Regions from separate parts of the Homo sapiens genome. Here region 2 is linked to region 1. The links are contacts of gene promoters, found by promoter capture Hi-C in blood cells and fetal thymus (Javierre and others, 2016). All regions are on one chromosome and are shown on one strand. Each heading gives the region's core, a stretch centred on a gene start or on the middle of the fragment in contact. The rest is flanking DNA. Distances are from core to core; before and after follow the strand shown. Region 1 holds the start of KLRB1 (killer cell lectin like receptor B1). Region 2 has its middle 7.0 kb from the start of LINC02367.

Region 1 (4,340 bases), core at 1,588-4,087:
TATGCGGTGTTTGGCTTTCTGTCCTTGTGATAGTTTGCTCAGAATGATGGTTTCCAGCCTCATCCATGTCCCTACAAAGGACATGAAATCATCCTTTTTTATGGCTGCACAGTATTCCATGGTGTATATGTGCCACATTTTCTCAATCCAGTCTATCAATGATGGACATTTGGGTTGGTTCCAAGTCTTTGCTATTGTGAATGCTGCCGCAATAAACATACGTGTGCATGTGTCTTTATAGCAGCATGATTTATTATCCTTTGAGTATATACCCAGTAGTGGGATCACTGGGTCAAATGGTATTTCTAGCTCTAGATCCTTAAGGAATCGCCATACTGTCTTCCACAAGTGTGCCTCTATTTTACTATAAACTCTATGAAGGAAAATAATTTTCTCTATTTTGTTCACTGCTGTATTCACAGCATGCCTGGTGCAGAGTAGGAGCTTATTTTTTAATGAATGAATAAACTCTAGGGGCATTTTTGCAAACACCTTATCCACTTTTCTAACAGACCAAACCCTTGGCCATTTGGCCATAAGCAAGATCGGTTATCACTCACATCTCTCCTTCTGGTTTTGTTGACTGCCTTAGACACAATCACCGTGCTTGCTACAGAGTGACCACAGCCTCAGCAGTTTAGCCAGAGACCAATAGTGGTTTTACTGTCATTCAATATCAGACCAGTGTTCTATAGTCACATATTTTGCTCTGGCTTTATTCTACTCTTATTTTTTCTTCAGGTTTACTCTCAGAATGACATTTTATAGGATAATTATTACAATCCAAGTAGAAAAAATTTCTGCATCCATTGGTTTGGGATCATAGCAACATTTGGGAAGAGTCTCACTACCTCTATATTCATTTTCTGACAAAAGCCCACTTTCCACCTTTTGCTAGATATGAATAGAGGAAAAGAAAGACTTACTCTTTTCTTTAAAAAAAAATGTTACTCAACCAAATCCTCCCTATAGTTATTAGAACCCTCTGATTTCCTCTACTCTTATGTGAAAATTATACTGAAACTTAATTGACGGCTCTAAGACTTTCTTCTTGACTTAAAACTTTGAGAATTCAATAGTTTAAAACTTAAACAGTCTTAAAACAGCACAAGTCAAATGCTTGGCATGACATGGAATGAATATCAGATTGGTAAACAATTGTAATATTATCAATGATAGTAAATTCAGTTAGATATCAGAAAATAATAATGTGTCATAATAATTTCATGCTGATTTTCTGCCTCAGTTTCTAGTTTCTTCCCATCCATCCACAGGCCATGCTATCCATCATGTGTTACCTCACATTGGTGTTCCCCGCTTCTTTCACTCAGAATGCTAACTCTTCAGAGACACAGGAAAGTGCCAGTTTCAACAAATGGTAAGTAGGTTCGTTACTGATATGCTCGAGTATTTTTGTGGCTTGTCTCTTTCTAAGCTGTGATACTTTTCAAACTAGAAACTATCAGGTAGTAATGATATTCAAATCTTTGATCTTGAATATGATTTTTTTTCCAGAAAGTGTTCCCCTCTCTTGAGAGAGTGAAGTATGTTACTCATTAAGCCTACACTTTATATATATATATATAAAATATATAAAATATATGTATAAAAAGTATATATATATATATAAAATATATAAAATATATGTATAAAAAGTATATATATATATATATATATATATATTTTTTTTTTTTTTTTGAGATAGTCTTGCTGTGTCACCCAGGCTGGAGTACAGTGGCACAATTACAGCTCACTGCAGCCTTGATCTCTTGGGCTCAAGCAATCCTCTCACCTCAGCCTCCCGAGTAGCTAGGACCACAGGCACGTGCCCCACACTTGGCTATTTTTTTGTATTGTTTGTAGAGATGAGGTTTTGCCACATTGCCCAGGCTGGCCTTAAACTCCTGGACTCAAGCAAATCACCTTAGCCTACCAAAGTGTTGGGATTACAGGCATGAGCCACTGCAACTGGCCTACACGTTGTATTCTGAAAGGAATATTATGGATGAAAATGCACTGGGACTTAATCATAGTATTGATATTTTGTAGAGGAATTTGGAATAACGTAGGTTGTTATTACAGCAAGTTTGCAATGTGTCTTAAATATTCCTTAGTTCATACATGTAAAATATTTTTCCTTCCTTCCTTCCATCCTTCCTTCCTTCCTCCTTCTCTTTTTCTTTCTTTCCTTTCCTTTCTCTCTCTTTCTTTTTCTTTCTCTCCTTTCTTTCTTTCTTCTTTTCTTTCTCTTTCTTTCCTTTCTTTCTTTCTTTCTTCCTTTCTTTCTTTCTTTCTTTCTTTCTTTCTTTCTTTCTTTCTTTCTTTCTTTTCTTTCTTTCTTTCTTTCTTCCTTCTTTCCATCCCTGTAGAGCAGGGGTAACCAATAGGCAGTGTGCCCAGGGTAGCCTAAAGTGTTCAGAGTCTTTTAACCAAGGCTCAGTAAGACAAGTGATGTTTGCTTTTCATGCTAACTTGATTGAAAAAAATAAATGTATGAGGTTTAAATTTTTTTTCCCAAAGTTGTGATTATCTACAGGCAAGCCATGCAACACCCGTTAAACATTAATATAAAACTACTGCTCATCTTTAAAGCAATGATTTAAAGCCATAAATGTAACAGGAAGATCTAATTCTGGAAGACATACAAATGCCGAAAGGAAAATTAAAGCCACTTACCCCGAGGAAGAGATGAAGGTGAAGAACTTTCTGGGCCTGAGTCTGTGGGTAAGTTTAACTCAGCATATATTGCTTGTTGGTCCATGGCAGACAGAGGAAGGTGGCATTAAACTTGTGTGTAAGAACAAACTCTCAATTCTGTGAGGCAAAATCAGCAAAAGGAAGCTTTCTGCCTGCAGTACTTTGTTGTCTCTCTTTTGTCCCCACCCACATACACTTTTTGTTGGTGGTTATCTCCATAAATTACTGAGACAATCCACTGACTGCATGTTCATTATACCTAGCTATGTAATATCTACTTTCCTTAATTAACTGGCCTGTTGTTTGAGAAAATTCTGGGAGGCTCATTTGTTCTTGTTTTTCTAACCATCCCTTTTGTGTTCCTCTCTCAGGGCCAGGACCAGAGTGAAGCAAATGAGGCATAGCCTGGGGTTCCAATTTAAGGGGCCCCCAACAAAACTCACTAATTAACAGAAATAATATTTAGCACAATTTTGTAAAAGTAAAAATTAATGCAAAAAAGTCCATAATGCTATTCAAAGGCTCTAAAATCTTCCTGAAATATCTGTGCTCCAAAGAAAGTTGTGAAATGTGAAAAATGGAAACATAAATGTGAGAAAGCCCCCTGAATAACACAACAGAAAAAGCAATGTGCTAAAGATCAGTAGCCTACTGTTAGCTTAGCTCTAAAGGCACTCTTGGATATGATAGCATTTTCACATAAGTAAAAGTATTTGGAAACTGCCAGAATTGTAGGAAGTGGAGTATATGGAATTTTTTATCTCTTTGAAAGACTTTCTTTTTTTTTCAAGGTGATTATAGTATGTGTCTACTTTTTTTTTTTTACCTTTTTTTATTATTATTATACTTTAAGTTCACAATGTACAGGTTTGTTACATATGTATACATGTGCCATGTTGGTGTGCTGCACCCGTTAACTTGTCATTTACATTAGGTATATCTCCTAATGCTATCCCTCCCCCCTCCCCCCACCCCACGACAGGCCCCGGTGTGTGGTGTTCCCCTCCCTGTGTCCAAATATTCTCATTGTTCAATTCCAACCTATGAGTGAGAACATGCGGTGTTTGGTTTTCTGTCCTTGCAATAGTTTGCTCAGAATGATGGTTTCCAGCTTCATCCATGTCCCTACAAAGGACATGAACTCATCCTTTTTTATGGCTGCATACTATTCCATGGTGCATATGTGCCATATATTCTTAATCCAGTCTATCATTGATAGACATTTGGGATGGTTCACGAGTCTTTGCTATTGTGAATAGTGCCACAATAAACATATGTGTGCATGTGTCTTTATAGCAGCGTGATTTATAATCCTTTGGGTATATACCCAGTAATGAGATGGCTGGGTCAAATTCTAGTTCTAGTCCCTCGAGGAATCGCCACACTGTCTTCCACAATGGTTGAACTAGTTTAGAGTCCCACCAACAGTGTAAAAGTGTTCCTATTTCTCCACATCCTCTCCAGCACCTGTTTTTTCCTGACTTTTTAATGACTGTCATTCTAACTGGTGTGAGATGGTATCTCATTGTGGTTTAGATTTGCATTTCTCTGATGGCCAGTGATGATGAGCATTTTTTCATGTGTCTGTTGCCTGCATAAATGTTTTCTTTTGAGAAGTGTCTGTTCATATCCTTTGCCCATTT
Region 2 (3,977 bases), core at 1,478-3,977, 250 kb before region 1:
CACTTGGTGCAGAGTTGAGTTCAAGTCCTGGATATCCTTGTTAACCTTCTGTCTCATTGATCTGTCTAATATGGACAGTGGGGTGTTGAAGTCTCCCATTATTACTGTGTGGGAGTCTAGGTCTCTTTCTAGGTCTCTAAGGACTTGCTTCATGAATCCGAGTGCTCCTGTATTGGGTGCATATATGTTTAGGACAATTAGCTCTTCTTGTTGAATTGATCCCTTTACCATTATGTAATGGCCTTCTTTGTCTCTTTAGATCTTCACTGGTTTAACGTCTGCTGTATCAAAGACTAGGATTGCAACCCCTGCTTTTTTTTTCTCTCCATTTGCTTGGCAGATCTTCCTCCATCCATTTATTTTGAGCCTATGTGTGTCCTGCACTTGAGATGGGTCTCCTGAATATAGCACACTAATGGGTCTTGACTCCTTATCCAATTTGCCAGTCTGTGTCTTTTATTAGGGGCATTTAGCCCATTTACGTTTAACATTAATATACTTGTGTGTGAATTTGATCCCGTCATTACAATGTTAGCTGGTTATTTTGCCCATTAATTGATGCTGTTTCTTCATAGCATCGATGGTCTTTACAATTTGGCATGTTTTTGAAGTGGTTGATACAGGTTGTCCCTTTCCATGTTTAGTGCTTCCTTCAGGAGCTCTTGTAAGGCAGGCCTCATGGTGACAAAATCTCTCAGCATTTGCTTGTCTATAAAGGATTTTATTTCTCCTTCACTTATGAAGCTTAGTTTGGCTGGATATGAAATTTTGGATTGAAAATTCTTTTCTTTAAGAATGTTGAATATTGGCCCCTACTCTCTTCTGGCCTGTAGAGTTTCTGCTGAGAGATCTGCTGTTAGTCTGATGGGCTCCCCTTTGTGGGTAACCCAACCTTTCTCTCTGGCTGCCCTTACCATTTTTTCCTTTATTTGAACCCTGGTGAGTCTGACAATTATGTGTCTTGGGGTTGCTCTTCTCGAGGAGTATCTTTGTGGTGGTCTCTGTATTTCCTTAATTTGAATGTTGGCCTGCCTTGCTAGGTTGGGGAAATTCTCCTGGATAATATCCTGAAGAGTGTTTTCTAGCTTGGTTCCACTCTCCTTGTCACTTTCAGGTACACCAGTCAATTGTAGATTTGGTCTTTTCACATAGTCCCATATTTTTTGGAGGCTTTGTTCATTTCTCTCTTTTCGCCCCCGGGTTCTGCCCAGGGTGGCCTGATGGAAAGCCCCGACATTAGAATGGGAACCATCCCTTAAAACCTGTCTTTTCCAAAAGCCAGTTTGAATTTACATCTTTAAAATCTCCAAAATATTTATTTTACAAGGCAGGAGCTGTGCCCCAAAGCTTGTGGCAATTGGGGACCTAAGGTTCCTTGAAATCACCTGAGTGTGGAAGTGGTGATAAGGTGCTAAAGAGATGATCTGAACTCACCAGGCTGATGTGGATAGAATGGGAGGCCCCAGTTCTGTCCCTCCATCCCTGAGGCCCCTCCCCAACCTCCCTGGACCCCCTGTCCACAGAGGCCGTGCTGTGTGCCAGCCTCACTCCTGCATTCTGGAGATGCCGTTCCAAGATGGAGGTTCCCTCACACCTTCCCCCACCCAGCAAACTCCATTGGACAGATCCACACCAGCAACAGCTTCACAGCTAGGCCCTGGAGGTATGGAGCTCACAGACCTCCCACTAACTAAGAAAAACACGGTAGAGAGCCAGAAGGGTGGCAGGTTCCAACAGAGCCCCCACCATGTCCCCCACCCAGCCCCCCATCCGACCCCTTCCCTCCACCTGGACTCAGCACCATCCTGAGTCCCTGCGTGAGAGGCACGTTGAGTTCTATGGAAGAATAACAAAAGTGAGAACAACTGGTACAGTTGCCATGAGGCCCTGGATGCCCAGGGGACTGGAGGCTTTGACGGCCTCTGACTCGGCCCCTCTCGGGGGATCCTGAAGACTATGGGGATGTTTGCCTCTCCACACACACACAGCATCCCATTCCCTGGCTGCCACTCCACACAGATTACCTTCCTGCACCAGAGGTTTCAATATTTCTTGAAAAGGTTGGCAATTTTGAAATTTTTTTCATACATTTATTCCTTACGATCCACTCCTCTGCTTTCTTACAATTGAGCATTTTGAGAATAATTTAACCTTTTCATCATGACTTGGGGTCCTGATGATGAACACCATTATTGTGTTGAGATGTCATTTCCCCCAGAGTGCAGGGACCATGTCTCAGTCCTCTGTGTGCTCCTCGGCACCTCGGCCAGCCCATGGCGATGCTGTGTGTGTCTGCGGGGTTGCACTGACAGAAGCCAACAGAGGCTCTGGCATAAAGGCTGACAGCCTGCTGCTCTGGGCGGTTCTGCTTTGTGAATATGTGTTCCTTAGTGTCTTTCCTTAGTATCCTCTCTTGCTATCAGTCTATCAGCTCACCAAATCTTGAGGCCCCTCTTTTTATTTTCACTTTTTAAAAATTGAGATATCATTCACCTAACATAAAAATCACCCTTTTAAAGTGGTTTTCATATATATTCACAAAATTGTGCGTCCATCACTACTATCTAATTCTAAACATTTTCATCACCTCCACAAAGAAACCTCATACGCATGGTCAGTCTCCACACTTCTTTCCCCTAGCCCCCAGCAACCACAAACCTACCTTCTGTCTCTCTGGATTTGCCTGTTCTGCACTTTTGCATAGAATGGAATCCTGTGCCATGTGGTCCCTTTATGCACGATATCCAACCCAGAGAAAGGCCTTGCTTCCTAAGCCCTCCTGAGACTCACCAGCCACGAGCCCGCATCTATAGCAAGTTCTTTTGAAGGCCCTCTTTACTGCTGGACATTCTTCCTTTGTGCAACAAGTCAATAAACCCATTTTGGTTCAGCTACAGGTGAGTTCTTGGTGGTTTTTTAGCTTAGGAGGATTGGCAGAAATAGAGGTTCCCTGAGTCAGCTGAAGCCCTCCCCCTTGGACAAGAACCCCCGCCTCAGTTAGGGTGGACACAGCTGAGACATACAGGGTGTCTCCCTCTGTCTGAGGTGCCGGGTGGCCCACAGCTGGAAGGCAGCTCGGGCTGAATGGAGGCTGATATTTCCTTGAGGCCCCATGGAGGCTGATATTTCCTTGAGGCCCCTCCGCTTCAGGTGTGCTCTGTTCTGGGAATGAGGTGCTGTGCGACTTTTCCTGGTGATCTGATCAGATTTGCCCCGCTCCACGGTGAAACTGCTGTCTAGCCTTCTGAGAAATGCTCCTATGTCTATCTGGTGGTCGAATGTTCTAAGCGTTGTCTCTAAGTGGAAAATTCAGTAGTTGATAGGGGCCCGGGAAGTCTGTCCTCAAGCTGGTCTTGGAGGTCACAGTGCTCAGGAGTTCCCCTCAGACTAGCATTCATTGGAATGAGCTTTGCCCCAGGTCACTGTTTTCATACCTAAGGGTGGATTTTCCCCTCAACTTTGTCTCTGTGTGGTTCCTGAGAACTGCTCACTTTAAAGTTCCCTCTGCCTGGAATCAGGAGGATTGGGGACAATCAGCCTGTGGCCTCTGACCAAGCTCTGGAGGCACGAAGTCTCTTCTCGGACTGCTCGGGTGCCCGTGCGACCTTCTTCATCGGACGTGGCTCTTCCCCAGGCCAAACGCCTGCTGCTTTCAGATTTCCTCACTGTCGTGTGAACTCATCTTATGCCTCTGACACAATTTCTTGAGACACCATTTGAAACTGCAGTGGCCGCTCTGGGGAATTTTCACATGAATGAGGTTGTTCGTTTGAGAGGTTCTGTACAGCAAACATGGAAGGAGCCCCGTGAAGAGCTTCTCTTGTGGGACAGAGACATCGATGTGTTTAATGCAGGAGACACAGTCCCTTCCTCATTTGTTTCCATACTTCAGGGATTAATAAGTGCTGGGGTTTTGTTGTACAGATTGATAAAACTGTCGAAGGCCAAGCTGTTGTCCAAAACAGGATAATTTCACT

The links. The method cuts DNA at HindIII sites, captures the fragments that hold promoters and counts their contacts. A CHiCAGO score of 5 or more calls a contact.
Region 2: a fragment that was not itself captured here is called in contact with the fragment with the promoter of KLRB1 in region 1 in 5 of 17 cell types (M2 macrophages, total B cells, endothelial precursors and 2 more); the score reaches 7.5 in M2 macrophages.

What each region holds. Positions count from the first base shown.
Region 1 is chr12:9,605,079-9,609,418 of GRCh38, forward strand. KLRB1 (killer cell lectin like receptor B1) reads right to left here and starts at 2,838. Exons shown (of 6, transcript NM_002258.3): 1 at 2,677-2,838. The coding sequence starts at 2,761. The HindIII fragment of the contact is 4,730 bases long and covers 1-2,839 here.
Region 2 is chr12:9,358,510-9,362,486 of GRCh38, forward strand. No RefSeq gene overlaps it. Among named protein-coding and RNA genes, the nearest start is that of LINC02367, 7.0 kb to the right of the region's middle. RefSeq lists an enhancer at 3,579-3,828. The HindIII fragment of the contact is 2,764 bases long and covers 1,346-3,977 here.